2 separate regions of the Homo sapiens genome follow, and region 2 is linked to region 1. The links are contacts of gene promoters, found by promoter capture Hi-C in blood cells and fetal thymus (Javierre and others, 2016). All regions are on one chromosome and are shown on one strand. The core of a region is centred on a gene start or on the middle of the fragment in contact, and the rest is flanking DNA. Distances in the headings are between cores, read along the strand shown. Region 1 holds the start of DSCC1 (DNA replication and sister chromatid cohesion 1). Region 2 holds the start of EIF3H (eukaryotic translation initiation factor 3 subunit H).

Region 1 (3,397 bases), core at 331-2,830:
GATGGCAATGACAGGGGAGTTGGTTCTAGCAGTTTTCCTTGTCTGTAAAGCATTTAATTCTCCTGTGCACAACTCGTTTCTTTTGAATAAATAATAAGAAACCTGAAATAGCAGACTGTGTATTTATTTTTGACTAAGTCTTCATTTAAGTAAAAAGAATAAAAGGTTTTTTAGATTCCTAATGCTAATAATGCTTAATAGGCCCAAGTACCTAGTCTTTAACATTTATTTCTCTAACTGCACTACCCCCACTTTGAAATATTTTGTTTATACCATCACTCCCTACACCCCAAAATTAAAAACACACGTTTCCAGGGCCTGTTTTTATTTTTTTGTTTTTGTTTTGTTTTGTTTTTGCCAGCTAGATTAACTAGAACTGGACCGAGAGAAAGTCCTCACACCTGAGTTCCTTTCTCAACTCTCCACCAACTGAACCGGGATGGAAACAGACTAGTGAAGTTCTTTCAGTTCCCTTAAAGGTACTTTGAGGTATATAGCAGGTATCTGAAGAATGGCCAGTTTACTCTAACACTCTTTGGTGGGCAAAGTACGAAAACTGAAAGACAGCCTAAAGGATTCCATTAAGAAAAAAGAGAAAAAATAGCCTAATAAAATATAGGTGTCGGAGGACCAATTGTGCAAAAGAGAATCAAGCTGGAGCTCCCTATTTTGCAGGAGCTGGGGCTGCACAGGGTGGAGGGATATAACGATTCTCTAGACTTCTCAAGACTGCCTTTAAAAAACTACCTCAACTTCGACTTCTAATCAATGATCTTGCAGCAAGTTTGTATCTGACCTGGAATTAGAAACAGCTTCAGATCCCTACTAAGCAAGTTTGCTTCGGGGTGGGTAGGGGTCTCACCCAATTACCAAGTCTGTAAGCTGATTCCCAGCACTTCCTATCTATCATCTGAGTAAAATAAATATAAGTGGAAGGCAAGAGTTCTATAAACATTGGGTATCACCACTGTATTTTAAGGTAGAGTGACAGGTGTCCTGTAGAGTCCCTGTAATCACCGGTAACTCTTCAAAAACTTCACGGAGGTTGTATTAGTATTTCCTGACTTGCTCCCGCTGACACATGCCTCCAAGGTCAGCTGGACCAGTGCTACTCATCACCGCAGTGCAGCTAACTGGACGGCCCACCGGAGGCGTGGACTCCTCGGGAACAGGCAGCTTGCTATGAGCCCCCGGCCAGGTCAGTGCATCTCTCTGGCCCTGTTTTCTTATCCCGACTTTCCCCGCTGAGAAAATAACGTGGCCGGCCAGAGGCTGGGGGCGCCGCGTGACCAGGGCTCACCTGTGTCCATCCTCCAGCTGCTGGCACAGCGTGGGCTCCAGCTCCAGCAGGCAGAAGTCGCCGGCTGCAGCGCCGCTGGCCCCAGGGCCGAAGCCCAGGCAGTGCACCGCCGGCAGCAGCTCGGCCGCATTCAGCTTGGCGATCTGCAGCGTCGCATCCACCTCGTCGCGGGTCCTCTTCATCGCAGCGCCGGGTCTAGGAGTCCCGCCGCGCCCGGGTGGCTGCGGGCTTGGCGGGCAAGAAAGAAGTTCCCAAGCAGCCGGAAGGTAGGAAACCTGAGCGTTTGAAAGCGCGCCAAGGCGGCCATGGGCGTGTTTCCGGGGCGGAGCGCGCTGCGGGCCCGCCCGCGGGAAGGCCTGCCGGCTTCTGGGAGCGCGAGCCCCTCCGTGCCCCACGCCGGACCGCGACTGCAGGAAGGAAACGCGGCTTCCCGGGGGGCGGTCTCGGCGGAAGCTCGCAGGGGCAGAGCTGCGACTCGGCGGGTTGGGACACGGATCCCTCGCCCACCCTTTCCGCTGTCCCCTTGCCCGCCCCCCATCCCCGATCTCCGTCCCTGGTTTCCAGCCGATGCTCCCATTTCCTCGCCGTCCACATTGTCTCACCTTCCGCCAGTGGCGGGCCCTGTGATAACCACTTGGCATGTATAATTCCATGAGCCCGTTGCCACAACCCTGTAAGGTGGTGCCTTGGTCATTCCCTTTTGCCAATGAGGAAGCAGGCTCCTTGCTCGTGATGGCAGAGTCAGGAGGTAACAGAGTCTGACTCCAGCCTAGCCGACTGTGGCTCTAAAAGCTTCCTGCGGGGTTTTGTGCAAATAACCCATGCTCGGGAGCGAGGCCCTGGGAAGGAGTATCTCGCTTCTTTGGGTCAGGGCACCATCATATCTGGAGACAACGGCGGGACTAGTCTATTCGTTGAATACCTAGTGTTAACCGAAAAGTGACTGATGCAGGTCTCGTTCAATAGAGGTTTATTTAAGCAAGGTTGAGGACGCACCCGAAGGGAAAAACAAGTCACAGGAGCATCTGTGACTTGTACATTTTCCAAAGGTTTGGGGAACTTCAGTATTAAGAGTTTTAAGAGAAAAGGTTTTCACTATGCACACATACATGAATTGCTTGTAACAGCGTAATGTGTAAACTTTCCCAGAGATGCTTAGGGAATCGTTGAGGGCCCTGGCTGTCCCTGAGAGCTAAAATAGTCTGGGAGGAATCACTTAAGAGATGGTGACCTCCTACTAGTTAGTGCAAATCAGACCTTGCTTGAAGTGAAAGAAAGTGGTGGGTAAGGTGTTGAATTCAAAGGATCTGAGCAGACATTTTTTTCAATTCTTGGGTAAAATGATACGAAAATACCAGAGTAGGGCATCCCAGGAGTCTGGGCAGTGCTTTCGTTGGTGGTGGAAAGATTGGTTCATGTGACCTACTTCTTCACTAGCCTCTTTTACATTTGAATGCATAGGAATTCGGTGGAATGAAATCCTGAATGTGACAGTGGTTGCCTGATAAGAAGTTATTATTGAAGGGAATCAACCATTGTAGTTGCTCTATTAAATGGGAAACATTCCCTACAACTAGAAGCAGTGTCAACTAGAACCCTGACATTTACATCAGACAGGCATGGCTGCGAATCCCAACTCTCTTCAGAACTTTGTGACCTAAGGCAATTTACCTAATTTCTCTGAGTACAACTTCCTTATCGATAAAAAAGCACATAAGACCTACATTCTTAAGATGTACATTCTAAAATGCATGGCTGCTTAATAAATGGCAGCAGTTCTTTTTGTTTTTATGTATTAATCATTATGAATTTAATTTCCAATTAATGGTATGAAATTATTGCCATTAATTTGATATTCTGTCAGGGAGCTGGACCTGTGTTCCTCTCATAAGACAAAATGATGATAGTTTTTATTAATTCATTCTTTAAAATTATGTTAATATGTTTTTCTAAAGTAAGAAATTTTCTGTACCTTTTCAAAAAACGATTGAAGCTGGCTTAATCATTCATCTGGTAGCAGGAAAAAAATATTCTTTATCAGGTAAAAAAATGAACAGTTATAATAAATTTCAAAAGTTCTGTTCATGAGAACAGAAT
Region 2 (3,397 bases), core at 488-2,987, 3.1 Mb before region 1:
GACATTGTTACTGAAGTGCTTTTACCACTGCCCTGTGTTAGATAGTATTTGGCACTTAACAGAATGTCCTAAAATATTTGCTAAATAAATGATCTCCAAATAGATTTATGCCACCGACCTGTTGCCTTTTTCAACTCTGGAAACTAAGTGATTCAAAGAGTGCTGTTGTGACATAGCAAATTTAATAAGAAATATGTTTCTAAGAAATAAACATTTCCCAAGTGCATAAGTGGTACTTATTTTAACAAGTGTAATCTAAGTCCACCCACTAACTTTAGAGATTTGCAATCTCTAAAGATACGTCATTTATTCCTGAACACACATCTGCCTCCCATGAGCCAGGGAAAGCCACAGTGCCAGTACACAGGCCAGATAGTACTCCATTTTCTTTTTTTTTTTTGGACGGAGGCTCGCTCTATTGCCCAGGCTGGAGTGCAGTGGCACAATCTCGGCTCACTGCAACCTCCGCCTCCCAGGTTCAAGCGATTCTCCCGCCTCAGCCTCCTGAGTAGCTGAGATTACAGGCGCGTGCCAACATGCCCGGCTAATTTTGTGTTTTTAGTAGAGACGGGGTTTCACCATGTTGGTCAGGCTGGTCTCGAACTCCTGACCTCCTGATCCGCCCGCCTCGGCCTCCCAAAGTGCTGGGATTACAGCCGTGAGCCACCACGCCCGGCCTGCATTTTCAAAGTATTACACAAGTGACATTTAGAACAAAACATTCCAAAGTTAATCTCTTGCCTGCATCTTTCAAACTCTGCTAACCACAGACATTAAACTCATAATAATAATCATAATTAACATTAAGTGATTACACTGTACTACAGGTCACCACATAAACTTTTTCATTTAATCCAAACAACTCTATGATACAGATACTTCTCATTCCCACTTGACAGATGAGGAAAGCAAAGCCTGGAAAGGCTAACTTGCCTTAAAGTCACAGAGCTGGTTAAGTGGAAGAGCCTAGAAGACTGAATGAGCTCTTAACCACCAGGCTACACTCTTGTATCCAGTTTAACTAAGTCAGTTCAACAGATTCAATTATATGCTGCGTTTAAATTATCAACAGTTTCCACTTAAAAATACCTGCTTGCAATTACAATTTTCACATGAATTTAAAAGTACTTTCTTATTACAAATATCTAAGATCTGCATTAATAGGAAATAACCTTTAAAAAAATCAAAGGAAGAGAGGATGCTTTTTAAAAAGAGGGCAGGAAGGATACTTTTAAAACTAGAACGTCATATAAATGCATTTTGCTTCGAAACAACAGAAATAAAATTTCTCATTCTAGATTTTCCTCTTCCCAGCTAAGTCCATTTCCTTATCAAGAATTTCCTTGGATGTCCTAGTTCATGAACCTTAACTACTAAATACATTTAAGGCCCTTCTCTTTGATATTCTTTTATGTTTTTCAGAATGAACACTACAAAAGAGTATTCTAAATTATACGGTTTCAGATAAAGCGCCGAAGTACAGGCTCAAAAGAGTGGCTACAAAGTACATCTCCACTTGGAACGTTATAGATGTCAGATCCCAGCAGGGAATCAGTGGAGTTTCCTTACTCTCTCCTTCCCAGAGCCCTACTAGGTCCCTAAATCCTTCTCGACACCTTCGTTAGCTGCTGGTCTCCAGGAGTCTTTCTTCAAATCCCCCCACCGGTCATCTCAAAACAAGACCCCAGGAACCTGTCACTCACACCCCTATTCTCAGTCCCCTTCCTGAAGCCCCAACTGTCCCGTTAGAAGACAAGAGAAGGCTGTCGAAGCTCCTGAACAAAAAGTGAAGATGAAAGAGAAACGTACTAGGGAAAAACTTTGGCCCAGCCACACCAAGCCCAAGGGGGAGAATGCTAGAAAGTACGTCTGGTGGGACGGGGCTGGGAACTGCGCTCCCCACGTGGGCCAGAGGAAAAAGAACAGCACTCACAAGGCCATCTATCTGCACTTGCTTCACGGCTGAATCTCCCGAGCCGCCTTTGCCTTTGCCTTTCCCTGCTGCGCCGGCGGTGGAGCTGGAAGAGGTGGCAGTAGAGCCGGTACCTTCCTTGCGGGACGCCATCTTTCCAAGCAGACAGGAAGAAAGAGAAACGTGAGTTACCGGAAGCGGAAGTACAAGTCTCGCGTGACGTCACTCGCAGGCCGGCGTTCGAGGGGCGGAGACGGAAGGAGAAGCCAAAATTGGGCCCCGCCTCCCTCCTGTTTTCCAGTTTTACCTTCTTTCCAGGCGGTATCCTTTGTGCATGCCTACTGTACATTTTCGACCTCTTTCCGATGGAATGATCTAAGATGAAAGTAAACTTTTTAAATGTTTAATCATTCACCACTAGGCAAACCGTCATAATAGCATTACAGTTCGCATTATTTCTGTAGTGTCTCTTATGTAAAAATGCTTTCATTTCTGATCTTGCAATGAAGTGCTGTACTAACTCGCATTATGCATATTAGAAAACTGATAAGTGATTTGTCCGACATTATTCTGTTAATTAGCGATGAGCCAGTATTGCACAGCTTGTTTTACGTAATTTTAGATAGCTGCTTGTAACCACTTAGATTATATAGAAATTAAGACATAGAAACTTTTATCAGAATTACCAGAAATAGTAGCCTTTTGCTATTAGCTTCATGTAGAGATTTACCTGAGTAAAGTACCAAAGAAGTTATCTGAGGTATTGTTGAAGGATGATACAGAATATATTTTCTAAAAATCACGCTGATTTATGACACATTACTCTGAAATACACATCTCAAGTCCTTAAAAGAATATATGACAACTGTAAGAAGCCATTTTAGATAAGTAATTTGAAACATTCTTTTCTACTTCCAAATGACTTTTTTCCTATCCCTTATTTTTGAAATGTTTATTCAATAAATATGTATACAGAACTGATGAAATAATTAAATCAATAAACGGCATATCCTGCCCTGAAGTTTTTTGTTGTTTTGTCATTGGGATCTGGTGTTATATTTCAATCTGGGAGGAGAAATAGTTACATGTTACAAATTCTTAACACTACAAAATGAAAAGTTAATATCCACTCATTTCAAGTGTATATGAAATATTTATTAAAATACACCAAACCCTAGGTCACACAGAAAGTCCACAAATTTAGAGGTTTTAAAGGTTGATCCTGGTAAAATTACACTAGAAATTGGTAACAGAACATTCACAAAAAGAAGAAAGAAAATCTCGCATGGAAGAACCAGACTGGAGGTTTTTGCCTACCACTAGGTAGCTGGAATGATGAGCATTAGAAAACAGTGAGGCTACTTATAAACAATAATACATTTATTTATTGCTTTATCCTACAACATACATAACACAGTTTTGTTTCAGAATTACAATACCAATATCCTCATAGCAGTAAAACTACAAAGTAAAGTTTAAAATATT

Evidence for each region. Contacts are between HindIII fragments. The CHiCAGO score rates a contact against its expected background, and 5 or more counts as called.
Region 2: a contact is called between a fragment that was not itself captured here and the fragment with the promoter of DSCC1 in region 1, in 1 of 17 cell types (non-activated CD4 T cells). The highest score is 6.7, in non-activated CD4 T cells.

The regions. Positions count from the first base shown.
Region 1 is chr8:119,854,314-119,857,710 of GRCh38, forward strand. DSCC1 (DNA replication and sister chromatid cohesion 1) reads right to left here and starts at 1,581. Exons shown (of 9, transcript NM_024094.3): 1 at 1,301-1,581. The coding sequence starts at 1,482. LOC105375728 (a long non-coding RNA gene) reads left to right here. Exons shown (of 4, transcript XR_928590.3): 2 at 362-489; 3 at 1,093-1,566. RefSeq lists an enhancer at 1,253-1,562 and a silencer at 1,673-1,732. The HindIII fragment of the contact is 2,867 bases long and covers 1-2,090 here.
Region 2 is chr8:116,753,733-116,757,129 of GRCh38, forward strand. It overlaps EIF3H (eukaryotic translation initiation factor 3 subunit H), which reads right to left and starts at 2,091. Exons shown (of 8, transcript NM_003756.3): 1 at 1,934-2,091. The coding sequence starts at 2,065. The HindIII fragment of the contact is 4,157 bases long and covers 1-3,397 here.